3 separate regions of the Homo sapiens genome follow, and all the other regions are linked to region 3. Evidence: promoter capture Hi-C in human tissues and cell types (Jung and others, 2019). All regions are on one chromosome and are shown on one strand. The core of a region is centred on a gene start or on the middle of the fragment in contact, and the rest is flanking DNA. Distances in the headings are between cores, read along the strand shown.

Region 1 (2,945 bases), core at 99-2,598, 150 kb before region 3:
AAATTTTATTCTCTACTCTTTCCTATTCTTCTAAAATTCATTTCTCCATAAAATTTTAAAGAATTTTTCAAAAATAGTCCCTTAATTTTAAATCAGAATTCTTGTTGAGATATAAAACAAGCAAACCTTAATTTTCAGGATGCATTATGGCTTAAAAAGATCATGACTTACCCTTTATGTCATCAAAAGAAGAGATTGTCGCTTGCAACAGTGAAGACGGTGTTTTATTTCAGAAGTTCTGCAGAAAGGGCTTGAAGGACGATAATACCAACATTGGCACAACTGCCCTGTGCACTAAGAAGTACTTGCACCAAATAAGCTTTATGGATATTTTAAAATATGAAGTTCTGGGCTGGGCCTGGTGGCTCATGACTGTAATCCCAGCACTTTAGGAGGCTGAGGTTGGATAATCACTTGAGGCCAGGAATTTAAGGTTAGCCCTGGCAACATAGGGGGACCCCGTCAATACAAATAATAAAAAAGTAGCTGGATATGGTGGTACTTGCCTGTAGTCCCAGCTACTTAAGAGGCTGAGGTGGGAGGGCTGCTTGAGTCTGGGAAGTTGAGGCTGCAGTGAGCCATGATTGCACCACTGCACTCTGGCCTGGGCAACAGAGTGAGATGCTATCTCAAAAGAATAAAAATAAAAATAAAACAAAAAAATAAAAGCTGTGAAGTTCCATTTTCTATTGTTTCTATATGAATGACTTCCAAATCTAAGATTTCTTCTTTGTAGGGATCAGGGAACTCTGTGTTATATATCAACATTGTTTAACCCACACATATAAAACCAGATGATGGCTATTAACTAGAAAGCATATGAGATCAGGTCAGAAGAACTGATTTGCCTCTTTTCTCTATGGAGGACAGAAAGGGTGCTGTTAAAGTATTCTCAGTGAGATCCTTGCTTTTTTTCTTTTTATCCAAGATCTCAGATTTTAAAAATGAGGATGTGGTCTGGAAAAGGATCTAAGCAAGAATCTGGGGTATGCTGTTTTAAATATCTTAATCTCAATTTTCCTATAGGTCTCTAGCTTTTGGACCTGTCAATTCTTAATGAATATCTAGCTGCCAAAAGGCAAACAGGGTGCACCTCTTGAGGACAAGGAGTGTGTTTATTTAAGAAAGAGGCAGACTAGCAGGCCACTGCCTGAGTGGAATATGGGTCTATAAAAGCCACTGGAATAAAGGAGGAATGTGATGTGGCTTAATCCAGAGCTCCTCACAGAACTCTATACCTATGTACTGTGCCAATGTGTATGTAGGTTACATATCTATTGTCCTGCTGCCCTCAAAGCAAAGAAATATGGCTTTGGGAGTAGGGGTTGTACTGGAACAGACTTTGCCCTTGTTGAGTCACTGTTGAACAAACTTTTATAGATTAAAAGCTAGAAAAGGCAACCACATGTCTCTGTACAGCACTGGTAGGATCCTAGTAAATATATTGTAATTGTGCAATAAATATCTGATAAGTGATTGACTGAATGAATGAACATCTCCACAGATTTGGTTTCTACTGCCAAGTCAATCTGGTACCTTACACTAATTATGAGCAATCTATTTATTTTGCTGCTTGCAGTAGGTATGTTGCAAAATTCTCTTTATGATGGGGATAAATATCTGTCATTTAACATGTCCTTTTTTAGAAAATTATTTTAACCACAAGGAAGGCTTAGTAGCATTGCTGTAGCAAATTGACTTCTATTCCTTGCTTTCTGACTGTTAGACTTACAGCCAAGTAATCTTTGTATAAATACCTTTGGGCAGTCAGTTGACAGAAATAGAAGTTGTACATTTTAGTTCCTCCTGTGTAGTAGTTGGTACAGTTCAGTTTTTTTAAATCTCTTTTAAAGAGATCTATAAATGTAAACACAATTTTCTATAGCTTTCTATGGCTTGGAAGAATGCTAAAGATACTTTTTAAAATCTTTAACTTTTCTAAGGGCTCATTTATAAAAGTAATAATGAAAAAACTCCCCTCTCACTCAAAAGTTTTTCTCATTTTATGAGTACTATTACATTAAACCATATGGAACTGCAATTTTTATAGGTCAAATATCAGCAATTTAAATGGTAATCTGATATAATGATAAATACTCTTAAAGTTGACTTTTACAGAAATTTGCATTTTTAACAGCTTAGCAATACTTTAATTCTTCCACTAATAATATATTTATTTATTTACTTATTGAGACAGTGTCTCACTCTATTGCCCAGGCTGGAGTTCAGTGACACAATCTTGGCTCACTGCAACCTCTGTCTCCAGGGTTCAAGAGATTCTTGTGCCTCAGCCTCCCAAGTAGCTGGGATTACAGGTGTGTGCCACCACACCTGGCTAATTTTTGCATTTTTAGTAGAGATGGGGTTTCACCATGTTGAGCAGGCTGGTCTCAAACTTCTGACCTCAGGTGATTCACCCAGCTTGGCCTCCCAAATTACGGGGATTACAGATGCGAGCCACTGCACCTGGCCTAATATTATTTTTATTACTTGGAAATAAACCTCATCCCTGCTCTTAAGAGGCTATTCTCATCTCTGTTTTGGAATCTAGAAATATCTTATCCAAAAGATATAATTTCAGTAATAGTAAATATCTATTTTCACTTGAATATTTCTTCTTATTATCACACATTTTTTAAGAATACTATAAATGACTCAAATCTAGTTCTTTCTATGCATGAAAAACCCTGATGCAATGATTGGTTCCAGCATGTATAGTTATGTGAATTATTGATAGTTAAATTTTATGCCTTTCAGATTGTTAACTTCTTTTGCTACGACAACACAGCAGTACTTAGTGGTACATTATTCTTAAACTTAACACATCTCATGCCTTAAATACAGTTAACATTGCTGCAAAATTTTTATCAATATTGTTCCAATTAAATTTTATATGATTACTTTAAAAATTTGTTTTCTCTGCATATAGGCCTTTCATGTCACAC
Region 2 (2,949 bases), core at 156-2,655, 130 kb after region 3:
TTGTAAAGGCTCCAATTTTTCAATGTTCTTCTTAAAATGGGACATCTAAAACTACACCTCATTCCATATATGGCCTACATAGAATGCAGTAAGTCTATCGCTGTCTTTCTCCTGAAATATTTATTTCTATTAAACAAATCATTGATAGTGAGTCGGCATATAAAATAAATGAATTTTGTTTCAGTGATTTTTTTCAGGCAATATAATGTCCAGTTCTTTAATATATCCATTTAATAAGCATGCCACTTCTCCCTAGGGCTAGGTAAAGATTGACTAGATACCAAAGATCTTCCAGATCAGCAGTGACCTTGACTCGTTAGGTATGACTCTTCAACTACCTGTGGAAATACTTTACTCTAACAGTTCCATACTTATTCACATTGTCCACAAGGATATCATTTAAAAGTCTTATTGTATGGGCTTTATTAGAGTCAACATATATTGTGAATGTGACATTCCCTTAAATTGGTATCCATTAACCCTACAAAAAACTTTCCCCATGAAATTGATAAGCCCATGTTATCTTTTGTTGGTGAACATTTATTTTTAAGTGGATAATGATTTGCTTAATGTATTCCTCTTTGAGACTCAACGAGAAGTTGAGTTTCTGAATTCCACGTTTTTCCTGCATTTTGGAAGATCAGGTCTACATGTTTTGTCCCTTTTTTTGATCTTTGTGATTTCTTAGAGCACTGACAAGGATTTTGCTTACACAATGGCATATACTTTCAAAACCCTATGATATAATGATTTAAAAACAGAAATACTTGAATTTATTGAATAAATCTCCATTGTCAGCTCTAACTTATCTGGGGCTCACGTTTCTTAATCATTTCTGCCCTCTTGCATCTCGAAGATTATTCTCTTTCATTAAGAAGATGGAAACAAAACAGTTTTCCTTTATCCTTATATTTGTCCTAATATGCCATTTGTCTTACATAATGGACATAATTCAACATAATTTGAAGCATATAATGCTTTGAGTGAAGGTACATTTGACTGTTTGTCATGTCTTAATTCATTATCATCTTTAGCCTCCCCAACACCATTATTTTAATTCAGACCCTATCTTAAATTCCTTTGGGAGAGGGACAATGTTTTGATAATCTTTATATTTCCATAGTACATAGCCCAGTGCCATAAAGCAGAAACTACAAAAATATCAAATTTATGAGAAAGCTCCCTAAAGAGCTTCATTGTTTTTAATTTTTTTATTTTAAATTTTTGCAGGTACATAGTAGATATATATTTATGGAGTACATGAGATGTTTGGATACAGGCATGCAATGCACAATAATCATATCATGGAGAATGGGGTAGCCATCCCCTCAAGCAATTATCCTTTGTGTTGCAAACAATCCAATTATACTCTTTTAGTAGTTTTAAAATGTACAATTATTATCAACTATAGTCACCCTGTTGGGCTATCAAATAGTAGGTCTTACTTTATTCTTTCTATTATTTTTGTACCCATTAAACATCCCCACCTCTCCCAACCCCCACTGCCCTACCTAGCCTCTGGTAACCGTCCTTCTACTCTCTATGTCCATGAGTTCAGTTGTTTGATTTTTAGATCCCATAAATAAGTGAGAATATCCAATGTTTCTCTTTCTGTGCCTGGCTTATTTTACTTAACATAATGATCTCCAGTTCTATCTATGTTGTTGCAAATGATATGATCTCTTTCTTTTTTTATGGCTAAATAGTACTCCATTGTGTGTATGTACATTTTCTTTATCCATTCACTGTTATTTTAAATTCTCATTCTTTTAAAATTTTCTTTGAGATTGTCAGTTCTTTAAGTTTTTGATCTTTTTAACCCATTGTCCCTTTAGAATTTCTTTTCATTCAATTATTCCTATCTTCAATTTTTGTTTGAAATCTGCTTTCTTAGTATTTTAGGTGGCATATATATTACACTTTCTCCAGCATGTTCCTTTACACACCAGTTTGACATAGAATTATGTTTTCCTGTTATTTGTCATTTCTGCTCCTTCCTTATTTGTCAGAATTCAGTACACTCAAATAATTCCCATTGTGGCTTCGTTAAACCTTGGAGAGATGAAATTATTAATAAGAAAATCTAGATGTATTATAGTCTTTGCTCTTTGCAGAATGCAGCTGTTAGCAGATGCCTGATTAGTTGATATACTCCATCACTATTATTATTTCACACTTTGTCCTTTTGCTTAAAAGAGAGCAGTCTGGATTTTATTACTAATTACTTATAAAGACTTCTTAAAGTTAGGGGAAAAAAACAAAACTAGTCTCATGATATAGTCTCATGATACTGAAGTGAGTCTTGGTTTGTTTGTTTTTTCCCCACCTTAGGGGCATAATCAACCCATTTCCTGCTTCAAAAGGAATCAGAGCTTTTCCACTTCAGTGTATTCACATAGCTGAAGGGCATACAAAAGCTGTGCTCTGTGTGGATTCTACTGATGATCTCCTCTTCACTGGATCAAAAGGTGCTAGTAGTTATCTAATGCAGATATTTAATAGCTTTTTTTTTAAAAAAAATTACATTTTTAACATATTCTAGAAAACTGTCAAACTATTTAAGACCAGAAAGAATCGGATAATCTGGTTCAACCCCTGAATGTAAAATATATAAAATTATTGCATAGTTGAGCAGCAAGTAAAACCTCTGTTGATGTTTTGTGAATACAATGGTGACAGAATACATCTCTCTACAGTATTTGGGCATGTACTGCATGTAGAGTCCTGAATTTTGAAATGCAGGTTATATAAAAATCTATAAAAGGCTATTTAAATATACAATATGGGAAAGAGAATAAGATGCATAGCAACCACTATTTCTGCAACACTTACTACATATCAGGGGCTATGCTAGGCAGTATACTAATATATCTCACCTAATTCTCACAACAATCTCAATGAGATACATGTTGCATCCTCATTTTGTAAACAAAGAAACTCAGGATTCAA
Region 3 (3,353 bases), core at 235-2,734:
ATTTTGAGGCTAGGAAAGGCCCTCCAAAGAGTAGCCAGAGGAGAGCTTTCCCACCAATTTGATCTATAGAAGGATACTCAGCATCTCTGCCCTCTTTACCTCCCAGTTACATGTCTGTTAAGATTTAGGGGTAGTGAGATTAAGGGACAGAATAAATTTAAAACTATCTATAATTATATACCCCATCGGCCTTCCCATGGGTTTAAATCATCAAACACTTCTTGTTTTTCCCATAGTGTTGCAGCCTTCTCTGAGCCACACTGCTGTATCACTGCTGAACAAGATGATTAGGTATGTGATTGTAGATTGCAGGCATTTGAGGTAGTGCCTTTATTTGGATAGTGCCATTTAATTTGTGATACTATTTCGTATGAAGCCACATGTTTGTTTATAGAGATGTATGGAGCAGTCCACAAAAGATACTCTGTGGCAAAGCTAATAAAGGCTGTTTCCACAGAGCTATCTGAAGGCATGTGGAAGCACAATAGTGACAAACAGAAACCACAATGGGTCAATGTTGAGAGAATCCTGGGATTGGGAGGTGCTTTTTAAAGGCCAGAAGGGAAAGAAAATCAGTTTGGAAGGATTTACTACACAGCAGGTCTTGGTGGATATATTCAGTTCTGGGAACACTTGGCAGTACCAGGGTGCAGTTCATTTACCAGTGTACAAATGATTGAACAGAAAAGCATTCAGGAGTCTCGAATAAATCATTTCCATATCCCACCCGAGCTGGTAAACGGGCGATGAACTGTAGAACAGCCCAGCTGTCCAGAGACAGTGGACAAACCTGGGAGTCCGTTTAGCATGAATGACTGACTCCGGGGAGGGAGGAGGGAGGGCGTTCAGCTGGGGGCTAGGGAAGGGGGTCAAAGTCCAAGCTGCAGAGAGGACAATAAGGCTATGCGTGGGACACAAAGCCGAACCGCAGCAGCAGCTGCCTGGCTCCCGGCGCGCCGCTGAATCAAGCTTCGATTTGAGAAGGGACCTGGCAGCAGCGCGTGCACTAGCTGCTTCCTTCTCCCAGAAGAGCCTGGAAGGGCGCACAGGCTGGTCGCCCTCGGGCGAGGGCAGCCGGCGGCAGGCATCCCTCCCCCTCGCCTCCCTGCCCAGCAGCGCCAGGCAGTGTCCCGACGAGGGCAGGGCGGGGCGCAGGCTGGGGGAGGGCGAGGTGGGGCTGAGCCGCGCGGCGGCGGCTGACGCAGTGCGGGGCGAGGAGCCCGGAGCGCCCTGGCGGGCGTGGAGTCCCCAGCCTGGCCGCTGGGAGGCCGCGTCCCCACCGGAGGGGGCAGGGCGCACTCACCCGGCCGCCCTGAGGCCGCTGGCGGCCTGTTGGCTTCTCCACAGGCGCGCTCGCCGTTCAAGCGCGCTTTGTCCCCGCCCCAGATCCTGGGGGGTGAGCGGTGGAGAAGGGGCGGGCGCCCGCGAGCCGTGAATCACCTCCTCCTCTTGCTGCCTCAGCGCCGCCGCCACCTTTCCATTCAGTCGCCCAACATGGCTGGAGCGCGGCGGAGGTGAGCCGGCCGCCCGCCCGCAGACGCCCCAGCCTACTGCGCCCGAGTCCCGCGGCCCCAGTGGCGCCTCAGCTCTGCGGTGCCGAGGCCCAACGGCTCGATCGCTGCCCGCCGCCAGCATGTTGGGCGCCCCGGACGAGAGCTCCGTGCGGGTGGCTGTCAGGTGAGGACAGTCTGCCGGCGGCGGGCGGCGGGCGGCGGGTTGAGGGCGCGGCAAGGACCTGGCTGTGGCGCGGAGCACCGGCTACCGGGGTGGAGCGACCTGAGGGGCGTCCCGGCCGGGTTCTGCGGCTGAGGAAACTGAGGCAGTGAGTCCCCGCTGGCCTGGCACGCGCGGCCGGGTGCTGGCAGGGCGACTGCGCCGCCCTCACGCCGTCTGTGTTTGCAGGTGGCTGGCGGCTGCGCGGCGCCGGGTCCCTGGGGGGCGTCTTGACTTCTCTGGGGGAAAAGCCCTCGTCACTCCCCTCCGTCCCCTCGCGGGATCAGTCACCTCAGGTCTGGCCGCCTTGGGCTATCGCCTGTCCGGGAGGAGCTGCCTGTGCGCGGGGCTGTGGTGTTCTTTTTTATTAGTTCTAGAATGTCTGTCATACGTGTCCATGCAGCTCCGGCCTTCCCAGGCAGGAGACAAAGCATCTGACTATCAGCGCCGGCGACCGCAGGGCCCGCCGCGCGCCCACTCGGGTTCTGATGTCTGTGCAAATGAGACATCTTTTTCAGCATCACGGGGATCTAGACATGCCCCCGCGTGTGGGTAGAGGAGACAGATCTAGCCTCTTGGGTGTTGGAATGGGAGTGGAATTTAAGGTAAAATCCACTGGGGAGAGGTCTACAGAAGGAGGAAAACTCTTTAGCCAGAGGAAGGGTGAAATGGGTGACTGTGTGAAACATACTGACATTAGGCAGGGTGGATACAATGTAATCGTAACGTTACCCAGGCCAGGGTGTGAGTCTGGAAATACTAGGTACATCCTAGTATTGAAATTATATTTCGGCCAATGACAGGCACGAGTATTCGATGTAATTTCGGCTGTTTTGATACTTATCAAGAAGGAAAGCTCTGATAGTTGCTCATGGAAAATTGCAACATCATCACACTGTGTGAAAAATTAATGAAGCATTCATCCTAGAGTAAGTGCGTGGCTTTCACAGCTCTGAGAGTCTACTGTTAATTCACTTCTCCTTATTTATGCTTTAAGGATTATAAAAATAATCTACACTCCAAGGAATTAGGAACTATTAACAATCTCCCAGTCTTGTAGTCTTTCCAGAAAATTATTCTAAAAATTCTCCCCTCTAAACATTTCTATAGTTACTATTTTAGTGACACATCTTGGGTCAGGCATAGTAATGGCTGTTTCGTATACTTTGTATCTTTAATTAACTTAAATAATAAAATGAGTTTTTAAGTGTTTTTTTTTTTTTTTTTTTTACCACCCAGGGAGGTGACAGTTTTATGACTGGTTAGAATCACCTGTTATAAGGCTTTTGAAGTTTTAATTAGGCCTTCTTCGTTATTCTAGGGCTACTTATCCAATTGTTAGATTAGTCTGTTTCTCCTATTCACTGCTACTACCTCTCTTTTGGCCCTTTAATACCAGTTAATGACTGCACCAGGGTGGAGAAAGGGGAAGGAAAAAGACAGAAAACCCAATAAGAGGCAATTTTGTTAGGAGATCTGATCAAGGAAAGTGAAGAAGGTGCATAAAATATTACTGAAAACAGACAATTTGTCTGTTTTTAGACGTTTGAGATTTTTATATGTGAATTCTCTAGACTATCACAAGGCAGTTTGTTGACCATTCTGTTAAATCCGATGCTTCTTTGCCTGTAGAGCCATGG

Evidence for each region. Contacts are between HindIII fragments. The study calls those that stand out against the background at their distance.
Region 1: a fragment that was not itself captured here is called in contact with the fragment with the promoter of KIF21A in region 3 in 1 of the 25 tissues and cell types used here (pancreas).
Region 2: a fragment that was not itself captured here is called in contact with the fragment with the promoter of KIF21A in region 3 in 1 of the 25 tissues and cell types used here (lymphoblastoid cells).

Annotation. Positions count from the first base shown.
Region 1 is chr12:39,590,957-39,593,901 of GRCh38, reverse strand. All of the region lies in intron 6 of ABCD2 (ATP binding cassette subfamily D member 2), which reads left to right. Among named protein-coding and RNA genes, the nearest start is that of ABCD2, 27 kb to the left of the region's middle. The HindIII fragment of the contact is 6,479 bases long and covers 1-2,945 here.
Region 2 is chr12:39,310,936-39,313,884 of GRCh38, reverse strand. KIF21A (kinesin family member 21A) reads left to right here. Exons shown (of 38, transcript NM_001173464.2): 32 at 2,332-2,468. Among named protein-coding and RNA genes, the nearest start is that of KIF21A, 130 kb to the left of the region's middle. The HindIII fragment of the contact is 8,015 bases long and covers 1-2,949 here.
Region 3 is chr12:39,441,251-39,444,603 of GRCh38, reverse strand. KIF21A (kinesin family member 21A) reads left to right here and starts at 1,484. Exons shown (of 38, transcript NM_001173464.2): 1 at 1,484-1,677. The coding sequence starts at 1,634. RefSeq lists enhancers at 814-873, 1,155-1,655, 2,474-2,543 and a silencer at 954-1,853. The HindIII fragment of the contact is 12,215 bases long and covers 1-3,353 here.